7 separate regions of the Homo sapiens genome follow, and all the other regions are linked to region 5. The links are contacts of gene promoters, found by promoter capture Hi-C in blood cells and fetal thymus (Javierre and others, 2016). All regions are on one chromosome and are shown on one strand. The core of a region is centred on a gene start or on the middle of the fragment in contact, and the rest is flanking DNA. Distances in the headings are between cores, read along the strand shown.

What was found. Contacts are between HindIII fragments. The CHiCAGO score rates a contact against its expected background, and 5 or more counts as called.
Region 1: a contact is called between a fragment that was not itself captured here and the fragment with the promoter of NEK7 in region 5, in 3 of 17 cell types (naive CD8 T cells, total CD8 T cells and erythroblasts). The highest score is 5.8, in naive CD8 T cells.
Region 2: a fragment that was not itself captured here is called in contact with the fragment with the promoter of NEK7 in region 5 in 4 of 17 cell types (total CD8 T cells, activated CD4 T cells, non-activated CD4 T cells and 1 more); the score reaches 5.3 in total CD8 T cells.
Region 3: a fragment that was not itself captured here is called in contact with the fragment with the promoter of NEK7 in region 5 in 2 of 17 cell types (activated CD4 T cells and neutrophils); the score reaches 6.5 in activated CD4 T cells.
Region 4: a contact is called between a fragment that was not itself captured here and the fragment with the promoter of NEK7 in region 5, in 1 of 17 cell types (non-activated CD4 T cells). The highest score is 7.4, in non-activated CD4 T cells.
Region 6: a contact is called between a fragment that was not itself captured here and the fragment with the promoter of NEK7 in region 5, in 5 of 17 cell types (activated CD4 T cells, naive CD8 T cells, non-activated CD4 T cells and 2 more). The highest score is 8.7, in activated CD4 T cells.
Region 7: a fragment that was not itself captured here is called in contact with the fragment with the promoter of NEK7 in region 5 in 1 of 17 cell types (erythroblasts); the score reaches 5.5 in erythroblasts.

Annotation. Positions count from the first base shown.
Region 1 is chr1:197,615,580-197,619,411 of GRCh38, reverse strand. It overlaps DENND1B (DENN domain containing 1B), which reads left to right. Exons shown (of 23, transcript NM_001195215.2): 11 at 1,653-1,753. Among named protein-coding and RNA genes, the nearest start is that of DENND1B, 160 kb to the left of the region's middle. The HindIII fragment of the contact is 2,030 bases long and covers 1,455-3,484 here.
Region 2 is chr1:198,704,685-198,708,301 of GRCh38, reverse strand. It overlaps PTPRC (protein tyrosine phosphatase receptor type C), which reads right to left. Exons shown (of 33, transcript NM_002838.5): 9 at 1,350-1,568; 10 at 41-169. Among named protein-coding and RNA genes, the nearest start is that of PTPRC-AS1, 39 kb to the right of the region's middle. The HindIII fragment of the contact is 2,212 bases long and covers 1,067-3,278 here.
Region 3 is chr1:198,739,667-198,743,540 of GRCh38, reverse strand. It overlaps PTPRC (protein tyrosine phosphatase receptor type C), which reads right to left. Exons shown (of 33, transcript NM_002838.5): 24 at 1,515-1,672; 25 at 1,174-1,309. Among named protein-coding and RNA genes, the nearest start is that of PTPRC-AS1, 74 kb to the right of the region's middle. The HindIII fragment of the contact is 658 bases long and covers 1,390-2,047 here.
Region 4 is chr1:198,931,805-198,935,840 of GRCh38, reverse strand. All of the region lies in intron 1 of MIR181A1HG (MIR181A1 host gene), which reads left to right. Among named protein-coding and RNA genes, the nearest start is that of MIR181A1HG, 3.6 kb to the left of the region's middle. The HindIII fragment of the contact is 5,909 bases long and covers 1-4,036 here.
Region 5 is chr1:198,155,332-198,159,535 of GRCh38, reverse strand. NEK7 (NIMA related kinase 7) reads right to left here and starts at 2,538. Exons shown (of 10, transcript NM_133494.3): 1 at 2,260-2,538. RefSeq lists enhancers at 54-273, 1,813-1,862, 3,293-3,352 and a silencer at 2,103-2,702. The HindIII fragment of the contact is 2,805 bases long and covers 626-3,430 here.
Region 6 is chr1:198,723,619-198,727,658 of GRCh38, reverse strand. The region is part of intron 15 of PTPRC (protein tyrosine phosphatase receptor type C); the gene reads right to left. Among named protein-coding and RNA genes, the nearest start is that of PTPRC-AS1, 58 kb to the right of the region's middle. The HindIII fragment of the contact is 748 bases long and covers 1,628-2,375 here.
Region 7 is chr1:197,514,881-197,518,577 of GRCh38, reverse strand. All of the region lies in intron 20 of DENND1B (DENN domain containing 1B), which reads left to right. Among named protein-coding and RNA genes, the nearest start is that of CRB1, 250 kb to the right of the region's middle. The HindIII fragment of the contact is 673 bases long and covers 1,629-2,301 here.

The DNA of each region.
Region 1 (3,832 bases), core at 1,220-3,719, 540 kb after region 5:
GGGGGTGGAAAGAGTTAATACAGTCTTAAAGAGGCCTAATTTACAACTAAGGAGTACCTGAGAGCTCTTGGAGAATTTGACACAATGAGTTAGATCAACCCCATTTTCATTTCCCTCTAGCTGCAGTTTGTAACATAAATAAATCCATGGTCTATAATTGTTAAATGGAAGTATTTGAATGCCTCCTAGTGGCATATTGTAGGCTCTAATTAAGGAATTTAAAAAGTAATACTTATTGAAGGAATACTATCATAACCTATTAAAGCTTGTAAGTACAAGGTAGTAAAATCCTTTAATGATAACATCCTAAGTGAAATCAAAATACATTATTTGCCATACAAAACTGATTAAAAACATGACTGGAAAAAATATAATACATATGGCAAAGATGCATATACTTTGAATAAAAATTTTTGGTTTTGGTTCAAATCGAGTTATTTTAATTTACTTTATGTAATGGATCTATTTTGCACTTAAACATAGACAAATGTGGCTAATAATAGGATTTGGATAGCTTTGTGTACATTCATTTTTTTAAATTAATTGTGCTTATCACTTAGTTTCTTTAAATATCTTTGTATAATAATAGAGAAAACGGTTTATAGAAAGTCTGGTTCATTTTCAGATTTTTTTTTAATTCTGATCTTCAAGTTGAATAAAATAATTTAATCGGTAACCTTGAAATACAGACTATAGCAAAACTTTAAAATGATTAAGAATGCTGATTTAATTATTGCTTTATGCATAAAAATGACTTTACATCTACAGAAATATAATTTAAAATGGAAAGAAAGTCACATTAAAAGAATTCTGATGAGGGTCAGAAGATGGGAGAAAAAAGTGATATCCTTTTGTTAAGTACTAAAAAATGTTTAATTAACTGCTTACCAAAACAAAACAATTAAAATGGCAATTACCTTTAAAATAGCAACAGTGTAATTACAGCTGTTGTGATATAAAGCTAGGAAACAAAATGTTAATCTGGAATGAACAGTTTAAATATGAAATTATGATATACTTGGCTTCCTGTAGTACAGCTGTCAAGCTTGGGCAGTTTGCTGGTCAATAGTGACATTCTATGTGTCAGTGAACAGAGTCTCTTGATACCGTAACCCGCAGTTCACACATTACTGAAGCTCCAACTGTCGAACATTCAAGTCCCCTGATATTATTGCAGCTTCCAGACTCTCCTAACTGGCTCATGTTTCATTCTTTGGCAATTTGCCCTAATGATATCCCTCAGGAGCTTTCAGCCTCTCTTCCTTTCCATATTTAATCATCTTATATTAATCTGAGTGATACACAAACTATGCTGTACAAATTGTAATTTCCTACAATTTTTCTAAGATGCACACCTAATTTTTCAGTTTTACTTTTACTTATGTTCTAAGTTTTCAATCCCAAACTCGGTATTTTCAGATGATTATAACTATCTACATGATTCCCAAGAAGCTTCTTTTGCTGTTTATATATGTTTCAGAGGGGCCTCTGAGATGTAAGACTTTTTACATGTAGAAGTGATAAAGACAATGTGATTTATGTAGTTATGTAAATTGTTCTGTGATTACTGTTCATTGTTGATACATTGAACATTGCTTTTTGTTTGGAAGGTCAGCAGCTACTTATTTTTGTTATCCTTTTACAAATTTCAGTTAACTGCCTGTATCCATGGATCAGCTGCTCTTCTATACCCAATGTATTGGCAACACATATACATCCCAGTGCTTCCTCCACACCTGCTGGACTACTGCTGGTAAGCTGGCTTTTGCCAGACTCCTTTAAGTTTAGGTTTCATGATTAGATTATCTGTTTATTTGTGAACTAGGTAAACTTGGGGGCATATTTAAAAGAAATCACAGAAACTTACATTTTAATAAATAGTAAAGATGGCTTTTATGAAGGACAGAATAATTCTGTACAAAGGTAGCGCAAGTTTATACCTAGCAAACATAAAGTTCTTTAGATTTTGTGAATTTCTTCTGCAGTCATTTAGATAACTCAATGCAAAATAGAAAAAAATAACAGTCTTAAGTTGTGTTAGGAAAACTGTATAGAAGTTATGGTGTCAGTTAGAGAACCCAGTATCCCAGGTGTCAGAATTTGTCTGGCAAATCTGCCAGCAACCACATTGTCTCTGTCAGGGCATACTCTTGTTACCTTTACTTCAGAATACACTTCTTTACCCCTCTTTTTTCAATAATAGCACACCAAATACCAAGTACTGATAAAGGGGTTGTCTCTAATACAAGAATTCTTGTTTTTTGTTTAAGTCAAAGTCTCAGCCTTGATCCACCATGAAAAGCAATGTTGAAAAGTATTGGGAGTAGTTCTGAAAAGTTTCCTGGCATTAGACACAATTCCTAAAGGATCCCAATAACCAGGCCTCTAGACCCTCCTTGTTCTCTTCACCTGGAAGAGTCTGCATATTTATCATGAGTCTAAACAAGGATTAGACTTCTAAATAGCAGCTTCTGGGCCTTCTTCAAGACTAGGGGGGGAAATGTTATCTTCATTGCATAATCATCTTCTGCAGGTATAGCCTAATTCTTAAGAAATGTGATGGGATTTTTCCTCTAAATCATTGTGCACACACATAGAAGGAAACAATTTTGACCTTAATGTGTTTGCTTATTTCACAGCTAATGTTACTAAAACACAGCACTTTTAGAATCAATGCACTCATTTAACTTTCTTATTTCATAAAAGGCAGAAAGTATTAAGGATTAAAAATGATTTAAGTTCATACACAGAGGGTTTCTATTAACTTTTTATGACTGAGCCTCTTCAGAACAAGTGATTGTAGTGACAACACATGTACTTGGCCACATATTGATTACGTTAATATATTGGTGTGTTTCCACAGCATGGTAATATTATTAGTATTGATAATGCTGTGAAGTAGGTGCCCAGTGACCTACCATTGCTATTATGCTGTTTGAGAACTAGAAAGGAGAAACTGTTTGGCAGGAAACTATAGGAATGTAGTTTATATTGTTAAGTGTCACACACACAAGTCTAAGAATAAAATAAATAGGCCCTTTGTTATTCATTTTAGAGTTTTCCTTTAACCAACATACCTATAATATTTTAGCATTCCTTAAAGGGAGGGTCTCATTTATTTATGTTGACATATGCAGTAGATCTTTGTATATACTGTTCAGTAATTAAACTTTATTTATTTAAAAATATATTTTACAGCAGTATTTGGAAATATATTGATATATGATTTTACATAATATATCTTTAGAATTACGTTTTATATATGATGTTAGTGCCATCTTAATTTTTCTATTAAAATGTTCTAACCTCTTAAGAGATAACACACCTTTAATTAAGTTCAATTATCTGTAATGAATTACACATTTAAGACTTTCTAAAATGTTATTTAGAAATTATTATATGACACAGGCAGTTCTGTACTAATTTTTTTCCAGATCTTTTCTAATCGTTTCTACCCCTGCCATAAAATTCAATGAAGTAAGCTTGTTTCATATTTCAGTCCCTGGAATTTTCTTTCTAGTGTCTAATGTCTGAAATAGCCTTTGGGTTGAGTTCTAAGAGCTTGCATGCCAAAAACCTCCCTGGTTCAAAGAGTAAGTCAGTGATATTCAAACAAGAAGTTATCTGAAACTTCCTGAACCTTAAGGTCACAATGATAGGCTCAGCTTCTATCATAGGAACGGAGTAATATAATATAATTATTTTTTTAAAGAATAGCCATCAGAAAACTTGGTAAACTAAACTGTTTCCTAGGGTAAACAGTTTTCTTCCATTTCCATCCTTGAGGTTAAAAAATCATACTGATCTACATGTAAAAGGGAAAAAAATTACA
Region 2 (3,617 bases), core at 923-3,422, 550 kb before region 5:
GCCACAAAAAAAAATTCTCTGGTCAATGTTATATTCTTACCACACTGAAATCTGTAGGTAATATTCTGTGTATCACAAGTAAAGGTTTCAATATTTTTCCATTTTAAACAAATAGTAGTATCTGCTTTTTCAACTTGTGTACAATCATGTAACTGAAACTTTTCAACCCCTGACAAGAAGATACAGAAATAAACTTGATTAGTATTTCATAATGTGTATCCTAAGCCCTCATTCATTCCTAACATGTCAGTTAAAGCCACTGAAATTATGCTAATGACATAGAATTTGGCAAGGATTGAGATTGCTATGGGAAAAGTCTAATAACTCTAGGGATTTGTTTCTTTTATTATTTACTTTATTATTTTTAGCACCATATATTTTGGTAGTGTTTCATTTATAAGTTATACCACGTTAAAAAATGAAATGCAAGCAAACATATTGATAAAATTGTAGCTTTCGCACATTTTAAAAAACACTCATTCCATTTTGTATTTTTGTTTTTATCTTAAATTTTTTGTTTACTCTTTACTTACTTTTAATTGAATGATTATTATAAAGTGTATTGGGAGTTTCCCTATTGGGAAATGCATTTTTAAGTATTGTCATCTTCTGTGTTTAATTGGTAATTTATCTCAGTAATATTTAGGGAAAATGAATAAATTAAATGGATTTTATTTTCAAAATACATTTGATGTTAACATATTTAAATGTTAACAAATTTATTAATAGTCTTGAATTATTAAATGATATGACTTTTTAAAAAAATTACACGGCTCTGGAATCCCTTTTCCAGAATGCATTTGGCTAAGAGATGCTTCCCCAGAGTCTGCCCGACGCCTGTCACCCCCTCCTCTTTCCAAGCAGTAGCTTAGCTGACAAAACCAACTTGATCTCACTAACATGACCATAACCTTCCTTTTTATGAATGTATTTTGGTTCTTCCCATACACATCAAATCCTTTATGTTTCTCCCTAATATATTTCAGATAAATTTGTACTTAAAAGAATAAATATATGTACATATATAATTAATACTTCATTTAAGTAGAGGAGAATAAAGAAAGCTTGCAGACAATCACTTAGCAGGATAAACTATATTTAGTGCACATAAACATCTCCCTGTTAAATAAGTAGAAGTGGTGATTAATGGATGTAAACAGAAGGCTTATTTGACTCTATCATTTTTACTTGGTTAAGACAGCAGAAAGTTCACCCACTTGTTTCCAAGGAATTTCCTTTCCCTCAGCCCTGTTCTCTCACCAGACTAGCTCCTGTGACCACTGGAGAACACCACACACAAAAGTGTACTGTTTTTATAAATTTATTAAAAGAAATAAATTGATATTTACCTGGTGGCACATCTAATATTAATGTCTTATCAGGAGCAGTACATGAATTATGAGATATGGAAACAGACGCATTTTTACATTCTGTAAGGTTATGCACCTCATTGTTTGTGCAAGTATTGTTTCCACATTCCACATTCTCATTAACATTTAGCTTTGCTGTAAATAATTTAGTTTCCTTGTTATATAAGTAATCCACAGTGATGTTTGCATATTTTTCATCTAAAAGAAAATAGAACATTGAGTGTTATTTTTCCAGAATAAATAAAACTACATTAATGCAAATGCCAAAATATCAAATCAACTAACCAAATATCCCCAAAAAACATGAAAAAGAAAAAACACATTAGGTGCCTCCATATCATTTTTTTCGTAATTATCTGTGCTTTACTGCCCTAACAAGGACCTCAGCTTGTAAATTTATATTTGGATGATTACCAGATAAGTGTCTGTCTTCCTAGCTGGACTTGGAACTTCCATGAGAGCAAAGTCTAGGCTATTTTTATTATCACTGTAAATTCAGGAGTATGCATAATATGTATCATTAATGGGAACTCACTAGTTACTTGTTGACTTGATGCACAAATAAATGATGCATTTGAGAAATTTATTCTTGCTTTATAATTTTCTTGTTTTCTAAAACGTAGTTATTAACCACCTGTTTCTTGATATATGTGGGGCATTAATTACTCAGGGATCAGAAGCCCTCATTCTTTCCTTAACTTGGGTAAAATTATGATTGATAATATACCTCCAAAGCACCTTTGTTTAGTGTCAACAATTTCTGCTGACTGATAAAAATATCTTTACAACAAATATAAATTTATTCATTTGTTTTTATTCAACAAAAATTATTAAGCCCTTGTCATATGTAAGACATGGTCACCAATACTAGGAATTCAAAGGCAAGTTAGATATAATCAGCTTTTAGAAATGTATAATCCAGTGTGGAGGCAGACACAAGCATGAATTGCAGGAGACATACAAACCTCTAAAATAAGATTATGCAGGAAATAATGTGGCACTAGAAAGAGAGAGATCTGTTCCATTTGGAGGTATAGGACAGGATTTCCAGAGAAAGTGACTTAGTTTGTGTTTTAAAATATGAGCAGGAAATAGAAAAATAGACATGGGGTTTGGGGGATGAGGTTGGAGCAGAATTCCAATTGTAGAGGAAGAGCAGGAGTGGCCACAGAGGCAGGAAGGAACAGTATGTGTTTACAAATCTGTAAGTGGGCCAGGCGTGGTGGATCATGCCTGTAATCCTAGCATTTTGGAAGGCCGAGTCAGGTTGATCACCTGAGGTCAGGAGTTCAAGACCAGCGTGGGCAACATGGTGAATCCCAATCTCTACTAAAAATACAAAAATCAGCTGGGCTCGGTGGCATGTGCCTATAGTCCCAGCTACTTGGGAGGCTGAGGCAGGAGAATCACTTGAACCCAGGAGGCAGAGGTTGCAGTAAGCTGAGATTGTACCACTGCACTCCAGCCCGGGCAACAGAGTGAGAAAAAAAAAAAAAAAAGAAAGAAAGAACTAACGAATGAAAGAAAGAAAGAAAAGAAAACTGAAAGTGGTTCCATATTACTTAAGTGAAGAACATAAGGAGGCAATGATTCAAGAGGCGGGAGGAGAGATGAATGACAACCGGATTACAAAAGATCATATTAATTAAACAGACATATGAAGGCCACTCTTTACACTAAATGTATGGAAAGCTACTGAAGGCAGTGACTCCAGTGGTTAGACTTAGAAATGAATGGAGGAATAAGCCCTGACCATGAAGAACCGCTTTGCTTCAACTGAGAATCAAGGAAGAAAATGAGAAAAAAAAAAAGAGAGACAAACTGTTTTCAAGTATCTGCTTTGAGCCAGCCCCTAACAAGCAAGACAGAAAGAGAGAGAAAAAGAGAGATTTTTCTTCTTGATAAGCTTTGAAGGTATTATCCACATTTTATATTTATCATCACACTGAATCCTTGTCCCCCTCCCCCTCACCAACAAACTTGCTGTTATTCCATTTTTTTTTCAAATACCTAAATTAAATTAAGTGGCTTTACCAAAGTTGTCTAACTGGAAAACTTAGTTTTCAACTTTTATTTTGGATTCCAGGGTTATATGTGCAAGTTTGTTACAAAGGTATATTGCAGGATGCTGAGGTTTGCAGTAAAATTGAATTCGACGCCCAGCAAGTAGGCACAGTTCCCAATATAGGTAGTTTCCCAACCCTTGTCTTCCTCCCTCCATCATCGCTCTTGTATTTCCCAGTGTCT
Region 3 (3,874 bases), core at 469-2,968, 580 kb before region 5:
ACTGCTTATTTTGTTTGAATCCAGTATTTTCAAGGAAATGGTATACTTCTGATAATCCTCTTTAACCGCCACCTTTAGTTCCCTGAGTTTGGCACTGTCTTTCCACTGTACTTTATTTTCCACTGTAAATAATTTCTTTTTACCTGGTTAACAATTTGTTTTTATGTTTCTACACTGCTATCTATGTATCTGTAATCACAAGCATTGTACATTTTCATGTTTTTTTTAAATCACATAAATTATATCTTGAATGTTTCGTATGGCAGCTTTACTCACTCATTGTTTTCATCTGAGCATCTCTCCAAACAGACAGACACAAACCTAGATCATTGCTTTCTACCACAACATAGCATTTGTTGTACAGAGAGTTCACATGTCCACATTTTGTCTTCCTATTCCCCTATTGATACATATTTACGGTGTTTCCATTCTTTCATTGATATGTATTTCACTTTTTTTTTTTTTTTTTTTTTGCTATTTTGACAATGCTGAATGCAATGCACATTCTTGCAAATGTTTCTAGTTGATGCTTCTCTTGGGTATATGCATATATGTGATTTTGCTGGGTCAAATACAGACATTTTCAGTAATTACCATCACTTACAATCACCAAATGCATAGCATGGGCCAGGGACTTGTTTAAGTGCTTTATTTGTATTACTTTTGTGGTTATAAGTCTGTGAGGTATTATCATTGTCTCCATTTTACAGATGACTTAACTGAGGTGCAGTCAGACTAAAATTACTTAATAAACAATACCACTCACCCTCGTATTAATAATTAAAAGCAAGATTTGAAACCTGTAAGTGTAGTTTCTAAAACCAGCTGTTGATTACTATACTATTCTGTCTCTTCAGTTTAATTTTATGAGATGATGCCAAATCTATTTTCAGCATTTTTACTTTTTTTGCCAATCTGATATATGTTAACAGTAGTTCATTATTTTAAAAATTATATATTTTGTGGTCATCTTTCTTCCACAGTACTTTTAGGCACTAATGAAAAATGCTTCTAAGTATTTCTGGTGATTACCACGTTTTAGTTTTCAGGAAATCATCTACTGTTTGAGGTTGTGAAGAATTTGGATTTTTAAAAAATATCATTATTATCACTTGGAAAAGATTTAAGTCCAAAAAACCAAAGTGAGAATAATCACTAAAGGTTAGAACATACCTCTACTTGAACCATCAGGCATCTCTGTCGCCTTAGCTTGACAACATAACCATAAACATCCACTTTGTTCTCGGCTTCCAGGCCTTCTAGCATGGCATCAATTCCGATATAGGTTCCTGTGCGCCCAACACCAGCACTGGCAAACCAAGCAAAAAAAAGCAGAGGCATGATCATGGAAAAGCTGTCAGGTGTGAAGCCAATATAAGAATCTAAGCTTCTCCCATAGGTTGTTTCCCAAAATAGCAATTGCCAAAGGGAAAGATGTCTCTAACAGCCCTAGGCAGGTGGATTCTGTTGGAGTTTTTTTGTTGTTGTTTTTTTTTTTTGTTCGTTTTTCCTACCTGCAGTGCACCACAATGGGACCACTGAAGAAATTGCTGAAGGCATTCACTCTCCTTCTCAGTTTGAGGAGCAAGTGAGGATCCTCAGGCACCCCGTGGTCTGGCCAGCTGGTGAACTGAATGTGAGTCACCTCTCTTCCAGTTGCTTTTTCTTTTTTCTAGTCAAGAGATAATATTTTCTTTGAGATGATTTTTTTAAAGCAAACTATGAAACATAAATAAGTGGAAGGGAGTACCAGTACAAAGTCTCCTCGTGTAAACATAAACTACTCAAAAGAGTTCATAGTTTCCTCAGGTGTCTTATATATTTTCTCAACCATGGTTGTGTTTTCCTTTCTAATCAATAACTAGTAGTTAAGATATTGTGCAGGACTTGCATGTACTACCCTGTAAGCAATAACTTAACAGTAAGGTAAGTAAGGTAATACTTTCTTTAAAAGTATAACCAAAATTTCTAGGAACTTGCATGCTGTCAAGCAAAAAAAACCCAAAATAAACATACACCATAAAAGTGGGGTGCATGGGTGGAAGCTTTTTGGATTTGTGTTTAAAATGATTTGGTAAAGGTCATTCTCACAACTGTTTAAAATACTTCTGCTTGATAGGCCAGCAAACAGAACTAATTCATATGTGAGCAAAGTCTGATTAATTATTTGATGAACATTGTATTCCTTAGGCCTTCACATGGTAGCATTGTCAACACAGAATGTAGAGAGACGACTGAGGAAAGTCAGCCCCAGATTAGAGCTCAGGTTTGTTCTAATTTCAAGGTAACCACCATAAGATGCATAAGTCATAATTCTATGGCCAGGTATAAAGAACCATCTACATTTAGATAACAAAAGAAACACACAAACTGAGTTAATTAACACCAGTAAACCCAGACTACAGAATGTAGCCAGATAGGCATCAATCTAGAAATATATCCTCATATCTATGGAGCAGGTGCCTTTGTGGCTTAGTCAAACAAGTGTTTGGCCAGAAACTATTGATAGGATTGTTTCACAGCACTCTATAGACATAACAATTAGTAATACCATGGAAACCTAAGAAGACCTACGGAGATATATAGACTAAGTCTGTTTCTCCTGTAGAAAATATAGCTAGACTATACAAAAATAAAATTTAGATTACTAAAAGCCCTACAATAAATGAAATTAAGAGAAAATCTTAACCCCCATGTAAAGACTTGTAGTTTTTTAAACAGCTCTATCAAGAGACATTTTACAATCTTGATAGGTTGCATGTATCTAGGAATTTATCCATTTCTTCTAAGTTTTCCAATTCATTAGCATATAACTGCTCATAGTAGCATCTCATAATCTTTTAAATTTCTGAAGTATCAGTGGCAATGTCTCTTTTTTCATCTCTGACTGTACGCATTTGAGTCTCCACTCTTTTTTCCTTAGTCTGACTAAAGGTTTGTCAATTTTATCTTTTTTTTTGAGATAAAGTCTCACTGCAAAGCCCAGGCTTGAGTGTAATGATGCAATCTTGGCTCACTGCAACCTCGGCTTCCCAGGTTCAAGTGATTCTACTGCCTCAGTCTCCCAAGTAACTGGGATTACAGGTGCATGCCACCACACCTGGCTAATATTTTTTTGTATTTTTAGTAGAGACGGGGTTTCACCATATTGGCCAGGCTGGTCTCAAACTCCTGACCTCAAATGATACACCCGACTTGTCCTCTTAAAGTACTGGGATTACAGGCATGAGCCACTGCACCTGGCCTGTCAATTTTCTCTTTTTAAAAACAACATTTTATTTCATTGATGCTTTGTATTTTTTTATTTCAGTTTCATTTATTTCTACTTTGATCTTTATTATTTTTTCTTCTAATTTACAGTTCAGTTTGCTCTTGCTTTTCTAGTTCTTTGAAATGTATCATTATGTTGTTTATTTGAAATTTTTCTTTTTTAATGTAGGTGCTTACTCTTACAAACTTTTCTCTTAGTACTGCTTTCACTGTATCACACAGGATTTGGTTTGTTGTGTTTCCATTTTCATTTGTTTTGAAAAATTTTAAAATTTCCTTAGTGATTTCCTCATTGAATCAGTGGTCATTGAGGAATATATTGTTCACTCTCCATGAGTTTGTATAGTTTCCAAACTTATTCTTGTTATTGATTTCTAGTTCTACTGTAGTCAAAGAAAAGTTTATATAATTTTTTTTTAATTTTGTAAGACTTGTTTTGTAGCATAACATAAGGTATGTCCCTGAGAATGATCCATGGGCTGAGGAGAAGAATGTGTATTCTTCAGCCATTGGTTGAAGTGTTCTATAAATGTCTATTAGGTTCATTTGGTCTACAATGCACATTAAGACCAATGTTTCTTTGTTGATTTTCTTCCTGGGTGAT
Region 4 (4,036 bases), core at 1,081-3,580, 780 kb before region 5:
TGTTATCTACACCTCCCCCACCGCCGCCCACTGTGTGCTGAGACACCTGAAGGCTAGACATAATGATCAACAGAGCTCCAGCCTGTCTGGACTCCAGCCAGATTTTTTTCCCCTTCTACAATCAAGGAGCTTGCACGCAATGCATGCCGAGCCTATTCCACTGCTATGTGCAGATCCGGGATGGAAGTCTTACACATACTGCGGAAAGATTAAAGACAACAATATCCCCTTTCTCTTACCCTAGACAGCCTCAATTTTTAACCCTTTCATTACCTTTGAAACCAAGACGTCTTACCCATTCAAAGGCAGGTCTCAAGGGACTTTGCAACTCCCGCACCACATCATACAGATGCACATGCCTCATTTGGTGTAGAAATCTCATCTCAACAGATCTTATCAGAATATTTTAGGAACTAATAGTGTGCTAACTAAACATAATGTAATTTGTTTGTGTGGGGAATGCATGTTTGAATGAACTTATGCTGCATGAAATCTGGAACAAGTCAAAGGTCTGTCGAAAGATTCTTGCAAACCTTGCAGAAGGTTATATACCATTTCTGATGATGCTGTTCTTTAAGCATCTTTCTCTCTCTCTCTCCTCACACACACACATACATACACACATACTCGCTCTCTTTTCTCTTTCTCTATCTCAAGATGCACACACTCAACCAGGAAATTATATCATTATATCACAGAGAAATCCAGGTTAGCTGGTGATGTCATCATATATAAAATTTTGCCTTTGTGGGCAACATTTTCAATCACCTAATCGCTAATGTATGTTGGGTGTGTGCCCATAGGAAGTTCACGTGCTCGTGGGGTTAACCGACACCCACAGGAAAGGACTATTTTATTCGCAGCTATCTTTCTTTTGAAGATGTGTTTATGGGGCAGGATGGGTATGTTTATCAAGATAGATGTAGTCAGAGTTTCCTGGTTCTAGGAAGCCTTATTAATATGCTGTTTGAACATTTGAAAGGTGGCTGAATTTCAATGATATAAATAGGATGTAGAAATGGTGAGCATTTTGAAATCAAGTTGGATAAAAATGCTACAATACTTCAATTTATTATGACTTGGTGTTTTTTATTCGCCACTTAACATTTTGTAACAATTAAATCCTTTTTACTTTTAACTTATTTCTTTAGGAGAGAACAGTTTTGTACCAATGATTTAGAAGTAATGCTCTCTCATGTGCTTTTATAAGGGTATATCTATGGATTAGATAGTAGTTGAATTAACTTTCGTGTGAGCTAGTTCAGGGTTTGTATTTATTTTCAAGTCTGTTTTATGGGTCTTATACTGGATAGTTACTCACCAAACATGTGCTCAGATTTTTATTAATGCACACATTTCAGTACATTATTTTATTTCACTCCAATAAAGTTTAATACTTTTACCAAAACATATTGCCAGATTTGAGAGGTAGATATAGAACAACTCTGTATACATTCTACCCCTTAACTACCAAGTTTTGATGTGTAATTTAAATTAATCTTCATTAGAATAGAATGACTGCTATACTTACCAGTTTTTACATACCACGTATCTGATACATGAGTTTTAAAATTTTGGAATTTGCTCTTAATACTTCTTCATTCTTGCGTACTAAAAAGCAATTAATCTGAAAGGAATTTCAAAGCATATATGTATAAACAGCACTACGTATATGTCAACAAATTAATAAGATTCATTTTGCCAATGTATTTTGTGACTGTTTTAAAACAAATGAAAAAATGTTTTGTTCTTTTTCTGCTTTCATGTTACTATTGTTAAGAAAAGTATGTAGCTAAAGAATTGACACATTTTGTACTTAGAGAAAACAAGCTACACAAGTTAGATGACAGTCTATAGGGTAAGACTCCACTATGAACTAATAAATAACTTCGTTAAGAAATTCTTGGCCTAACTCTGTAATTTTGACATAAACAGTTCTTCCAACATATAGTGGAAGATTGATGATTAATTATATAATTTCCTTATCAAAGATTAAAATGGGCAAATAGTTGTGTTTAAATTTTACCTACTTTCAAAAAACAATACATGACATTGCCCATTGGGTACAGGTTACTGAAAAGGCATCTTTCAAAGACAAGAAGATAATGGACTTGATTGAAATAGTTGAACTACGTAACGCCAATTCAAGAACAAATGGTTTTTCAGAGCATAACGGAGAAAGAACAATTTACTATAGTACAGTTTATTCTTCTTACACAATGGCAATGATTTATTTGAAATGGCAGAACAAACATAGTAGATATACAAAAACAACCAGTGGGCATTTTATGTCAAAGATATGTCAAGAGGCTTTTGTTTCATATATTAGAATATTTTAATCCAAGTATTTATCTGAAGACTTAGCTTAAATCTACATCGTTGTTTAGCATGTGCTGATATTATGATCATGTATGTCTCTTACATGCATGTAGCATATTTAGTATATATATATATGTATATATATATATAATGTATTTGAATATAGTCTTCTGACCCCAAATAATTGTTGTCACTTTATAATAAGAGTTCTTGAAGACTACTAATGTACTTCAATACAATAAAATTCAGATTGCGATATCAACTAGCTATGTCTATACTACCAGAAGGGCATTATCAGATATTGGATGAATTAATGTATTGATGTTATAATTACCACAAATACCTCATGTCAAAGAAGAATATCAAAAGATATGACTCTAATTTGACAAACAGTATAAAATGTGATTTTTAAAACCATCTCTGTTTCTTACTACCATGAAAATGATTTGCAAAAGAAGACTCAACACTTAAAATTTCTCTTCATGAAAAGAGAATTTTTTTTAACTTAGCCTTTAGGCATAGGGCCTGAAATTATTGTGAGTAGATACCTGAGCACTGTGCAGAGAATGCACAGGAACCTCAAGTTGCGATGAGAAAACAAGGGAAACTGGTTTGGCTGCTTTATGTTTCAAATTTTATTCTTGCAATCCTACATGACGACAATACTCAAAATTAATTTGAGTGAAAACTATCAAAGTTATTTTCACAATTTTCAAAAGATCCACTGTCTTGTTGACACTCTATGAAGGAAAAGTGTTCTAAAAATGATTGAATGTTCTACTGAGTGAAACTCAGTCAAGCTCAGTGAGGCGCTGGGGTCAAATGGGCTCATGAATCACAGATAGGAAATGAACTGTGTATTGCATATTTGAAAGTTTAAAAAGAAACATTTGGGATATTTTACCGTAAACAGATTTTGGTTTGATTTCTGGCACATCTTTTTAAACATCAAGACTGCAGTTCAGCTGAAATAACTTTTTATATGTATAGCTAAGACCAGATGGCCACGTGCTCCTTTCTTATTTAGATGAGACTTTTCCTTTCAATAACATCTTTCTTCCTGACCTGCTTAAAAATTCCAGCGAATGAAATCAGCACAGGATTTTCAATTCTAATTGACCATGTGCAGAGGAAGGGCCAGTAGAGAAATCAGTAGAGGCATTGTGAGGCTCACTGCCTCAGTTTTGTCTTTGTGTTTTACCATTACAAGCCAATCTAGACTAATCAAAAGCATTTAATTTTTATTAATATTAATATAGCTGCAAGATTTGTCTTCAATGAAAATTATTTGAGTTGGCTTTTTCTATCATTTTATCACAAGTAATTCTTTTAAGTTATTATTCGCTTACACAGTTTCAACTGTCTAGTAAGCACTTTATTGGTTAAAAAATAAAATATTGGTTGAATTAAGATGAAAGAATGGTTGTACTAAATTAATTTTTCTTGTTATTTAAAAAAACATTATTTTTGGAAGATACATATGCTTTTTAAATTTACCATGAAAATATTCACTATATAATATTCTTGGTTCATTATCTGTATAGTCATTTTATAAAGAAAATATTTTTATGTAAATTTTATTTGAACTTGGACCAGTAAAAAAAATCAAGAATAGAACGTGAGCTCCATATTCAGTATAGCTCAGCGAATTACGTATGTATTAAAAGTGGGCATCTAAGTTCCCAGAATTTTTTTCTTTTTGAAAAATTCTTGACTC
Region 5 (4,204 bases), core at 1,289-3,788:
CGCCTAACGATTTAGATTCTGACATTTAGTGGTTTTCATTTTCAGGTAATTTCAGAGTAAAACCCGCCTCAGTCACATGGACTATATTTAGTCTGCTGACCAACTTCGCTTCTAATCTACTATAAACTTTCAGTAGTAGTTAAGTTCTAGGTGCAGCTGAATCACGAAACGGGACACCTAGGATGGCTCAGGGAAAACTGAAGCCCCCCTCCTCCTTCCTTCCTTCCTTCCTTTCTTTCTTTCTCCAGGCTGGCCCTCAGCCTGGCGCCCCTTCCGCAGACATCCCTAGAAAAAGAACTAACGCGGCCTTCTCCGAGCCCAGGGCTGGAGTAGGAAGTACCCGCCCTCCCGAACGCGAGGTCCTGGCTGCGCATTGGCTGCGAAGGCCGTCAGTACTCCGGAGGGCGGAGCCTCCCGGCACCCAGCGGAATTTCAGGCCCGCACCTCCGGGAGGGTCCTCCGGGCTCCCGGGCTCCTTCCTCCCCCTTAACACTACCCCCGCACACACACCGGCCCCGAGAAGGCAACTAGCCTCCTCAAACGGTTCCTTTGCCTTTTTATTTCGCAGGCCTTCCTCTCACCCCATACAGTTACTGCCCCTTTGACTCCTCCGAGAGGCAAAGCTTTTTCAAAGCTCTAACACCTCTCCCCTACCCCAGCAAGTTCCCCGTGCGAGACCAAATAGAGGATGCCGCTGTTCTAAGAGTGAAGCAAGCTGTGGACTGGATCTCGCCGAGGGAGAGAGAATTCCTTCCTCTGGAAATAAAATAACTGCTGAGATTTTAAGTTAGCTGTTTCAAGAGCACTTGGCCATCACCAAGTGTTACAAACCAAGAATACTCAGCGGCCATTCAACAAGAGTTGCCACAAAGCATTAGAGGGTTAACTGTATCTCCTGTTTTACTGTTCACCGTTTTCAGGGTTTGACCGGTTGTCCCAAACATACTGTAGCTTTTGAGTGCAAGGACTATGCCATTCTTCGACCACACCACCAGCAGCTCAAGGTCCTGAACAGAACATATTTATAATACACATACTCTGTACTTTAATTCTCTAATGCAACCTGACAAGACATACTGCTGTCGCCTGGAGGGAGTGTGCATAGCCTTGAAACTGTAAATTCCTTGGAGGAGGAACTAGAAACAGTGGTTCCCATTATGATGGGTACATTAGGCTCTACAAACTATGGAAATGTGGTGTTTTCAATTGCATCCTTGAGCTCAGTAACCTCAAAGGAGAATAATCATTTTATTTCTGTGTATTTCTGATTTTCAGTTCAGTCACCAGAATTGCGCAAGGACAGTAACATGTATCTTACTGTAAACTAAGTATATTTTTTAGCATTTCTCCCCAGTGAGGACTACAGCAAGGTGAGAACACGATACATCATCTCTCCGCGACCCCAGTACGCTCCCAGTGCAAGACTAAATAGAGGATGCTGCGGTTTTAGGAGTGAAGGCCTACAGTGTAACAGAGGCAACAGAAGTTCTTTAGCTCTCAAGGCAGCATCCTCTAGGTTGTGCTCGCTTCCTTACACTGTTCTGCGGTCATACGGTCTTGTCACTTTTCTCTGTTTTCCTTTGGCTACCCTTCTCTGACTTTGGCCTCAGTTTTCAATTTCTTTTCCATTGCCACCATCACCAGCAATGTTCGCTATTGCCTCGCAATCCCTCTCTCCGACATTTTGTAATCCCGAGTCTCTCCCAAGTTCATTCTCCGACAGACCTCTCACGCTCCCTGTACTTCTGAAGCCACTTCGGATTCTCCCCTATCTGCCGGCTCCCACCACCCACTCTCTCCCAGCGCACTTCACTTTCCTAAGTCGGGCTGCTGCCGAATCCTGACAGACGGACTTCACCAATCCGCGAGAGATAAATAACCGACGTCGCCAATGAGCATCCGCCGGAAGGCGGGACTTCGCTTAAGTTCCTCGGGTCCCGAAACCAAAGACCTGTTGCCGCCGCCGCCGTGGCCACGGAGTTTCTTAGTTACCGCGGCGCCCTTGGCGGCCTCGGGCCTCTAGAGCCGGGGCCAGGTATGAAGTTTCCTGCCGCCCCCTCCCACCGCTGCCAACGAACAAGACCGAAACCCCCATCCGCCTCGAGCGCAGCGCGCCCCGCCCCACCTACCCCGAGCGAGGGTATCCCGGAGGCCGCCCCGCGCGGTCCCGACCTCCCTCTCCCGGCCCGACTCCCGCAGGCGGCCCCTCCCGGCAGGAGCTGCCCGGTCCGGGCGCCTGAACCCTGGGCAGCGACTCACCAGGAAGTTGGGAGTTTTCCGTTCTCCCGCCCGCGAGAGACCTTGGGCGGGCGGGTGGCTCGGCGCGGCGCCGCCGTCGGAAAGCGCGCTGGGCCGGGGGCTGAGGCTGCGAGGCCCGGAGCCTGTCGGCCACCTCCCGCCGCGCCGCCCCGGCGGACGCTGCAGGCGCGGGGCACCCACCCTGCGCACTGCGAGGCGCGTCCGGAGTGCGAGCCTAGCGGCGGCCCATCCTCCCGCGACTCCCGATCCTCCTCCTGCTGCCGCCGCTGTCAGGAGTGTAAACATCCCGGCATCCCCGAGGAGAGGGGCGGGGCGGGCGCCGGCCCCACCCCGCGTCGTGAGTCCAGGCCGGCTGCCCGATGGAGGCTTCCCGCCTGCGTCCCCGGCGCTCCCTGGAGCTGGGGGAGCCTCGGCGGTTTCCCTACTGGAGCCGAAGTCGCTCTGGAGGAGCCCCTCCTGGCCCCTCTCTTCCGGTTGTCAGGCCTAGCGTGGTGCGGGGCACCGCGTCCGGTCCCCTGAGCCCTCTTCCCCGGCTGCTTTTTAAGAACCCAGGGTCGGCTGCTTTTTAAGAACTTGTTTTTTCTTCATTTATATGTAAGTGCCCCCACTTGCAAGCGGTGAACCGACTTACTGATGTTCCCTTCTGGACCACAGCGTTTGTGATCCCATCTTCTTTTACCAGGTGATTTAAACTACCTCTGTGTTTAATGTGGAGTGCAGGGAAATGAGAAAAAAAAAAAAAGGCGTTTTCCTGAGTCTGGCTAAGCAAACGTTGCATGAAAGTGTCCCAGCATAGAGGACAGGGGCTTCAACAACATTCCAGAAGGTAAACTCCCTGGTGTGGTACGGAGGATCTTTGAAATAAATATGTGCAAAATCACCCAGAACCCTAGTACACGAAACTGCAAAAGGAATGCTTTGACACCAGCAGCTTCACGACTTAAGTTAACAGGGCATGAACTACTCGAGGAGACGGCTAGGAGGCAGTATGGAGTCGGCCATACCTTAATTGTCGTCTCAACTCAGTGATTAATTTTGTGACCTGGCTGCAAGTTATTTAACCTCTCCAAGTCTCAGTAACTCTCTGTAAAAGGAGATTAGTTGTAATACCAACCTCTAGGACCATAGTTAGAATTAAGTGAGATAAAGCAAAGTGCTTAACCACAAAGCTTGGCATATAAGACGTGCTCATTAAATTGTTGCTGTTGTTCATAGGTCTCTCACTAGTTTAACTTCCCTGACAAAAAGATTAGAGCCAAGAATGAGTAGATTATACCTCAAACATTTAAAATGTTAAAGCCATGAAATTAAGATCTGGAAAGTTTATTTTTAAAAAGAAAAATGGCCGGGCGCAGTGGCTCATGGCTGTAAGCCTAGCATTTTGGGAGGCCAAGTGGGGGGGGGGGTGATCACCTGAGGTCAGGAGTTCGAGACCAGCCTGGCCAACATGGCGAAACCCTGTCTCTACTAAAAATACAAAAACTAGCCGAGCGTGGTGGCAGGAGTCTATAATCCCAGCTACTGGGGAGGCTGAGGCAAAAGAATCGCTTGAACCCGAGGCGGGGAGGAGGTTGCAGTGAGCAGAGATCGCGTTACTTCACTCCAGCGTGGGTGAAAGAGCGAAAATCCGTCTCAAAAAAATAAATAAATAAATGAAAACGTTCACGATCTCAAAAGGAGGCCTTGATTCATGTGGCTCAACAAATATTCATAAATGGGCTAGGCAATGTTCTAAGGAATGAGGATACAACAGCTCACCGAGATATACAGTGCCTGCTGTCATAGAGCTTATATTGTAGTCGGAAAGGCCAAAAAAAAAAAAAAGCCAATAAATACCTACTATGCCAGATGGTGAGTCATAGAAAAATAAAGCAGGGTAGGGAGACATGGGGAGGGAGGATGCTATTTTAAATATGTTTGTCTGGGAATGCCTCTCTGACATTTG
Region 6 (4,040 bases), core at 752-3,251, 570 kb before region 5:
CTCAGCTCCAGAGCCCGACTGCTTAGCTTCCAATCCTAGCTCTACCACTTCTTAGTTGGGAACTTGGCCAGATTCCTTATTATCTTTGTCCCTCCTTTCCCAAAATCCTAAAATGTGGCTAAAGGTGTTGATTCACAGTAAACACGTAGCACGGTGGCTGGGAAGTAGTAAGTACTAATTATTCACTATTCACAAAAAAAATATTTTTGGCTTTTGGTCATCTGCCAAACTCAGCTCTAGGTACTTAGGATATCTACATAAAGAAAAACAAGGGTCCTGTCCTCATGGAACTTACTCTCTAGTGAAGAAAAATAGATAATTAATAATGAACAGAAGAAATAAGTAAATGGTCATGTAGGTGAGAAGATATAAGGGCTGTGAAGATAAAAAGGAAGACAGTCCGTGGAAATGCTATAGAATATAAGGCAGAGATAATATTAGTTTTCAGGAAATTTGCATTCTCTTTGGGGGAAACAGACACTAGAAAGGTAACTGAACAGACAGGCGCAGTGGCTTACCCCTGTAACCCCAGCACTTTGGGAGGCCGAGGCGTGTGGATCACTTGAGGCCAGGAGTTTGAGAGCAGCCTGGCCAACATGGTGAAACCTCATCTCTACTAAATATACAAAAAATTAGCCAGGCATGGTGTGTGTCTGTAATGCCAACTACTTGGGAGGCTAAGGGATGAGAATCACTTGAACCGAGGAGGCAGAGGTTGCAGTGAGCCAAGATTGCACCACTGTACTCCAACCTGGACGACAGAGCAAGACTCTGTCAAGAAAAAAAAAAAAAGGAAAGAAAAGAAAAGAAAAAAGAAAGGTAAGTGAACAAATGAAATAATTATGCATTTTTTCATATACTCTGAAAAAAATAAGTAGGGTGATAAGGAAGTAGAGGGGATGTATTTTCTGTATGGCAAGTGGAGGCCTTGAGCATGAGACAGTTTTTCTACAACTGGAAAGAAGGAAATGACTCTATCAAGCAAACAGCTGCCAGAAACAGTTCATCTCATGATCAAAATTTCTGTAACTGGAAACTCATACAAACAGGAATATTGAAAGTAATTTCAGATACAGACTGTAAGACCTGAGCTTGAATTCAGGCTCTGTCATTTCTTTGACTCATAGGGCAAATAGATTAAATTATCCAAACTTGAGTTTCCTCATATATAAAATAGAAATAATTTTATCTCCTTTAAAGGGGTATTTATACTGCCGGCATATATAAAAATGGATGGGATACATGAATGTGAATATATAGGTGGATTGCAGTGAACATTTTTAGGGAAGAAGTTCTTATTGCAATAGGCTCCTAAAATGACCCAAAGTGTTCCTTGTCTTATCTCTATCTGAAATTCCTTTCACTGAAATTGTCAATCCATACCAGTGATTACTAGTATACATATATCAATCAGCATGATTGTTTCCAGATTTTGTGAATAAAAACCTCATCAGAGGCAACATCTAACTTCTAGAATACTCTGAAGTAAGATTTTGCAAGAAACTGCAAATGACTGTAAGTTAGCATTCCAATCCATAATAATTAGATTAAGTTCTACAAAAATATTAAGCAGCATCAGACTTTTCTCAACAAACTTAATAAAATAGCCAAGTCTTCAGATAAAGCTTGCATTCTAAGCACACATGTGTTTCCCCCTTCTTTCCAGGAACCCTGCTAATATTAAAAAACTGAAAATGCCATAGATTTATAATGACAGTGAAAATGAGAGAAGGGAAATTAGAAGTAGAGCAATTTCAACAAGTTGTAGAAGGTAGAAAACAAAAGAAAGGAGGCCACAGCCTAAATCAAAGGAATAGATTCCATTTACTCAGAATGCCTGAGTCTCAGGTTTGAAAGTGACATATGCAGTAAATGTGAATCATGGGTCAGAACATGGAAGTCAAATGTCTATTTACAAAAACAATAACAACAACAACAACAATAACAAAAAATATCTTCTTGAAAAAATACTACCAGGGAGGAGAAGACAAAAGGAAAATTAAATGAAAGCAGTGAGAGACTGAGAATAAAGTCAGGCTCAGTACAGGGAAGGGATGAGGCACAGGACTAAAATTAGGAGGACAATGTAATTGTCCACATATGCAATAGTTGGACACCTATCTTCCTGTCCTACTGTGAGAAGAACCACTTTTTCACACTTTACCACACAACAAGGAGTAGGGTAATTCTGGAGATTAATTTCTGGGGATTAATTAGTTTTTGGTGATAATGAATGATATCAGAAAAAAATAAATCAGCAATATCATAGGAAATCTCCTCAGTCACCAAGATCTTCTAAGGACCACAGAACATCTAATCAACCTTTCCTGTTGTCTCACTGTGACTATGACTAGACTACCAATAAGAACCAAGCTTTTAAGGAAAACATCAACACCAAAGGGGAATGCCAAAATAATAAGTCAACTTATGAGTTTTATGACTAATAGACTCAACCAAAGACTATGGGAAGAAAATGGAGCAAAGAATTCTCAGATATATAAATCTTCAGGTTACAAAGGTCAATAGCATCCAGAAAAAATGAATGAAAAAGATTCAGGGCCAGGCACAGTGGATCACACCTGTAATCCCAGCACTTTGGGAGGCCAAGGCAGGTGGATCATTTGAGATCAAGAGTTCAAGACTAGCCTAACCAACATGGTGAAATCCCTTCTCTACTAAAAATACAAAAATTAGCCAGGTGTGGTGGTGCCTGCCTGTAATCCCAGCTACTCAGGAAGCTGAAGCAGGAGAATCACTTGAACCCAGGAGGCAGAAGTTGCAGTGAGCCGAGATTATGCCACTGCACTCCAGCCTGGGCAACAAGAGCGAAACTCCCTCTAAAAACAAAAACAAAAACAAACAAAACAAAACAAACAAAAAATTCAGGTAAGACCAAGAATAAAGACAGAAACCTAGCATTTCCAGGGGAGGAAAACTTGGGAACAGACCAAAAAAAGAGAGAGAGAGAGAGAGAGAGAGAGAATCAGGATGGAATTAGAAAGTAAAATTGGATTCAGGAAAATAAGACAGAAATAATTTTTAAATTCTAAAATTTTTAACTTAGAATTTTATACCAAGTCGATACACTGAACAAGTGCCAGAGCAGAATAAAAATTTTTTTTGTATGGGAGAATTAGAATTATTTTTCTTACACTAGAGAACATATATCAGTGAACTCAGACAGAAAAAAAAATAACTATGTGTGATACAGCAAATCTAAACCAGAAAACTGATGGGGGAATATTTCAAGATGGCATGTGAGAGTCCAGATCAGAGCAAGAAGAAAGGGTCCCCAGGAGTTCAATTGACAATGATGTCAAAGTACAGGTGGTGGAATATTATGCCGGGGAAACCCAACAACACATCCCTAGTAGCTGTACCCTAGCAATTCACAGCCCAAGTCCTTTCCTGGAACAGATATCACTATTTTAAAAGAAACTATATTATTTATCTCTTAGGATAATGATATTGTGAGCAGAGAGTGAATACAATGTTGTCTCCTTTGTGGAAAAAGATGAGGGCTAATTTTTTGGCTCCGTTGACCTGGAAACCTGATAAAAGTGGAATATTAGCTGGTTACCAGACAACATTGCTAATGGCAAAATGACCCTTGATTGCTAAACTACACCTGAACAGGGAGTGCTATATGTGAACTCTATTGTCCTCATGGGAAGTACCAGCTTTGGGTTTCCCTGAGTGCAGTGCCCGCTCATAACTGAGCACACCCCTGTTGGCATGTCTGGAAGCTATGCCCATGGAAATAGTATAAGAGATACTGATTCCTTTTGGAATGCAGCTCCTACACCTACACATGTGGTCTCATTCTCTCATATCTCAGTTGTCTTTGAGAGTGTCATAAGAAAAGTAGCTGGATTGCTGTGTGCACTGCTGCAAGGATTCCCGCTGCAAGGATTCCCACTGCCAGGCTCCCTTGCTAGCATGCTGTGCTTTTTGTTCTGTGTCTTTCCAGGTGAAATGTTTCAGATCTGGCCTATTAAGATGTGAGTGTGAATGTTCAGCTGAGTCTATGACTGCTATAA
Region 7 (3,697 bases), core at 716-3,215, 640 kb after region 5:
ACTAAGCCCAAGAAAACTTGCCACCATATGGTTTACCTGAAACATCTGTAAATTAAGGTGAGTTCCTCTTGAGATTCTCCAAATTTGCTAAGGTTCCTGGTTTTCTAGAAAAAGGCCTTCCTTACCCCAATAAGGTTGGACTTTCTCAGGCAGACAGCATGTAAGTTTTCCTGGGAGGGTTTTGTGGGCATTAACTGCATAAATACAACAACCTCTTTGTTCCATTCTAGTGGATTGTCATTACTGCCACTTAAGATAAGGCGTTGGTTATACAATTTGTCCAATTATATCCTGGCAAGATAGTTGAAGACAATGAAAGATGCAGAGCACTACAAAACTTGATAACCCCCACAGGACCTTCTAGACAGCATTCATAATTCCACTGGTCAGACACCTCATAATCATTTTGCTCCTTTCAGAGTCTTTTGCAGTTTTCCTGGAACTAGTATGTATGACACAATGTGCTAGATTCTGAGGGCACAAGAGATAAATTAGCAAGGCAAGGGGTCTGCCCTCAAAAGCCTACTGTACGGTGGGAGAGAGAATGTAATGGCATATAAATTAATTGGTGAGCAAGGGAGTGTTTCCTGGAAAGATAAACTCTTGAGCCAAGGTTTGAAGGATAACTAAAAAACAAACAAACAAACAAACAAAACATGGGGAGGCTGGGGGGAAGAGCCAGGAAGAAAGAAGTTTTGGTAGCATGTCAGCCCACGTGTAGGACAGAGGCAGAAGACATTGAGAAGTATACAAGAGAAGGAGACGGTTTAGTAGTGTGGAGCAAACATCTTTATGGCAGGTGAAGCCTCCAGAGAGGCTGCCATAGCCAGATCCCTCTGTGCAAGGCAAGTAGTATGAGCTTTATCCTGAAGACTGTAAGGGGCCATTGAAGGATTTCTTTAAATAGGAGTATAGCATGATTAGGTTTGCCTTTTAAAAAGATCACTCTGTCAGCAATTTACAGACTGTAACATTCTACAAGACAGAATAATAGAGACTCAATATGGGGTAGGCAGTTACTACGTATTTTTGAATGAAAATCGATGTGTATAGACAAAGACAGTGCAAAGAGGATAAATGTAAGAGAAAAGTGTTTCTTGTAAAGGAATCATATGCAAAGGTCCTGTGCTAGGACAAATCAGGACAAATATAAGGGGTTGAAGAAGGCCATGGTGATACCTTTGGTTAGAACAAAGGGAACCCTAGGGTGCAGACCTTGAACTTGCAGGACCTAATGAATGAAAGGCAAGTGAATGTCATTTATTCCTTTTTTCTTTTCATCAGCAAATAGTTATTGAGAAACTTCTGTAAGCTGCTATTCTGTACTTCCCCCAAGTAAGGCAACAGCCACATTTAATTATTCTCTGAATTTCTAGCATCTCTTTAATCCACAAACACCCAGTAAGCACATCCTCATTCATGCTACTACTGTCTTCCATGCTAGGAAGGCATACAGTAGGGTGCAAAGGGCACAAAGAAGTATGAAATTTGAATCCCACTTATAGAGAGCTCTGAGTGTAGTGGTGCAGGCAGACACACGAGCAGATAACACAATGAGATTAATAGTACATTTGCCAAATGTTTACCAAATATGTGGCCATACAGAGGAACACTTAGCAGATAAAGCTTTCCAGAGGCTACATTTGAGCTGGATGTTGAAGGATAAGTCACTATACCCAATTGTGTTAAAATAATGTATATATTTTTTATTTTTATTGTGTGGGTTCAGATTATTTTTCTCTATCATAGTCATTTACATTTCAGGTCCTGCATAGTTAATATGCATGTTTTTAATAATGATATGTCTGTGATTTGTTAACCTAGATGAAGATGTACTGTTACTGGCTGGGTATTGGCACCCTTAAGAATACACAATATGTTTTCTGCAGTCTAAACTTACTTACTACCATTTCCCCACAAAAGACCTTTATTTTTAAGATTGTGACCAGGCCTTTTTTCCCTGTGTTGTTATGTTCCGAACATGGGGAAAACTGTCCTTTATTTCCCCTGAAAGCACTGTGCTTCAGAGTCGCAACCCACCAGAACACCATCAGCTGCTGAGCTTGTATGGACCCAGATTATCTCTACTGCTATTCTTCTCTGTCTTAAATGTCGATTACATTATGATTATCTTTCTCCTTAATTTTTTCTCTTTTTTTGTGACCTTAACACAATTATGTAGAAGTCATCAAGCAATTGACATATTCTATCACCTGTTTGGACGTTGTTATTTCTTATATATAAACTGCAGTTCCTAATGCAGGTTGATATATATTCAATGACTATTAATTAGAAGAAGCTTATTTCATATATGTATATAATTTTAAGTACATAAGTACATGTATAATAAGTATGGATAACACAAAGGTCAACACCCAAGGAAAGGAAAACAACATATTAATCAGTTTTACTTCTGTTTATAATTTAATTGTAGTGTTAAAACTTATCATAAGATATACTGTTTAACATCCCTATATAGAAATGGATAGAATGCTTGTCTAGCTAGGAAACATGAAACTAAAATGTAAATGTATCTGTGAAGCTTATATCATGACGTAGATGTTTGATTGTGGAAAAAGCAGTAGCTTCATAAAAAAAGTTGGACTTAAAAAATAGAGATGCTATAGTATATGCAGACAGCTACAGAATATAAAGGTAACTTTTGTGGAAGAAAATGAACAAGGGACTTGCAACACAATAGGGAAAGACATAAGTTCTGTTTTCTGGTTCCTAGTTTTGATAAAGTGTGTGTGCTTGGGCAAATTATATACTTCTCTTGGAATAACTCCAGATTTATTGTAGGGTCCATTAGACTTAGAGCTGTTTAGTGTCAAAGGCTTGACTTAATTTAACTTCGTAGTATCTGTGTGTATGTGAGAGTGTTTTGCAAAGTACTCTACAAATATAAACACTGTTGAGTATGTATTATCTAATCTTCCTGTATTAGTTCTTAAGTAGCAGTGATTTTAATTGATAGCAATATAAAGTCTCAGCTTCCTCATAGACTTTGTTTCAGTTTGTTTCATTTGTAAACAAAAACTTAAATGCAGGACCTGCTAGCTGGTATAAAGCCAAGCATATACAGAGCTCAGTGTAATACTAATGGCTTGTCTTCAGAAACAAAGGATTGTATCATATTTTGTGAGTTTTGGAGAGAGTACATGAAATGTATTTTTCCCACAGAAATATTGCTGTGAGTGGTGGCTTTGTTCTTAGGCTACTCTGCAGATTTCTGTTTAACTCATGTACCTTAAACTTATAGTGATAAAGTGATAGGCCCCAGTTTTAGACAGTTAGAGGCCCCAGATACATTTCTAATCCCTGAACTTATGGAAACCTCACTACACATTCCGAGTAGGGGTTATAAGAGCATATTTTACTACTCATTCCTTCCTTTTTGCCACTCACAAGCAGTGGCATAAAGGGAGTGGAGTAGGGATCAGTCCTATAGGTTCCATAAATTTGCTTACTCTTTGTGGCTGCAATAAAAGAAGACAATTATCTAGATTGGGAACTCAAAATCAGAAGGCAGAAAGTTATTCCTCTCTGGTGTCATGGTTGAAGTCTCCAAATTCAAGTTTACTGTTGTTCATTCAAAAGGATGGTTTGCAGCCATAAGCACCCATAGCACCCAGACTCGAAATTTAAATGCCATTTCCCATCTACAGAAACCAGTGTTTTTTAGAAGAAATGGCTG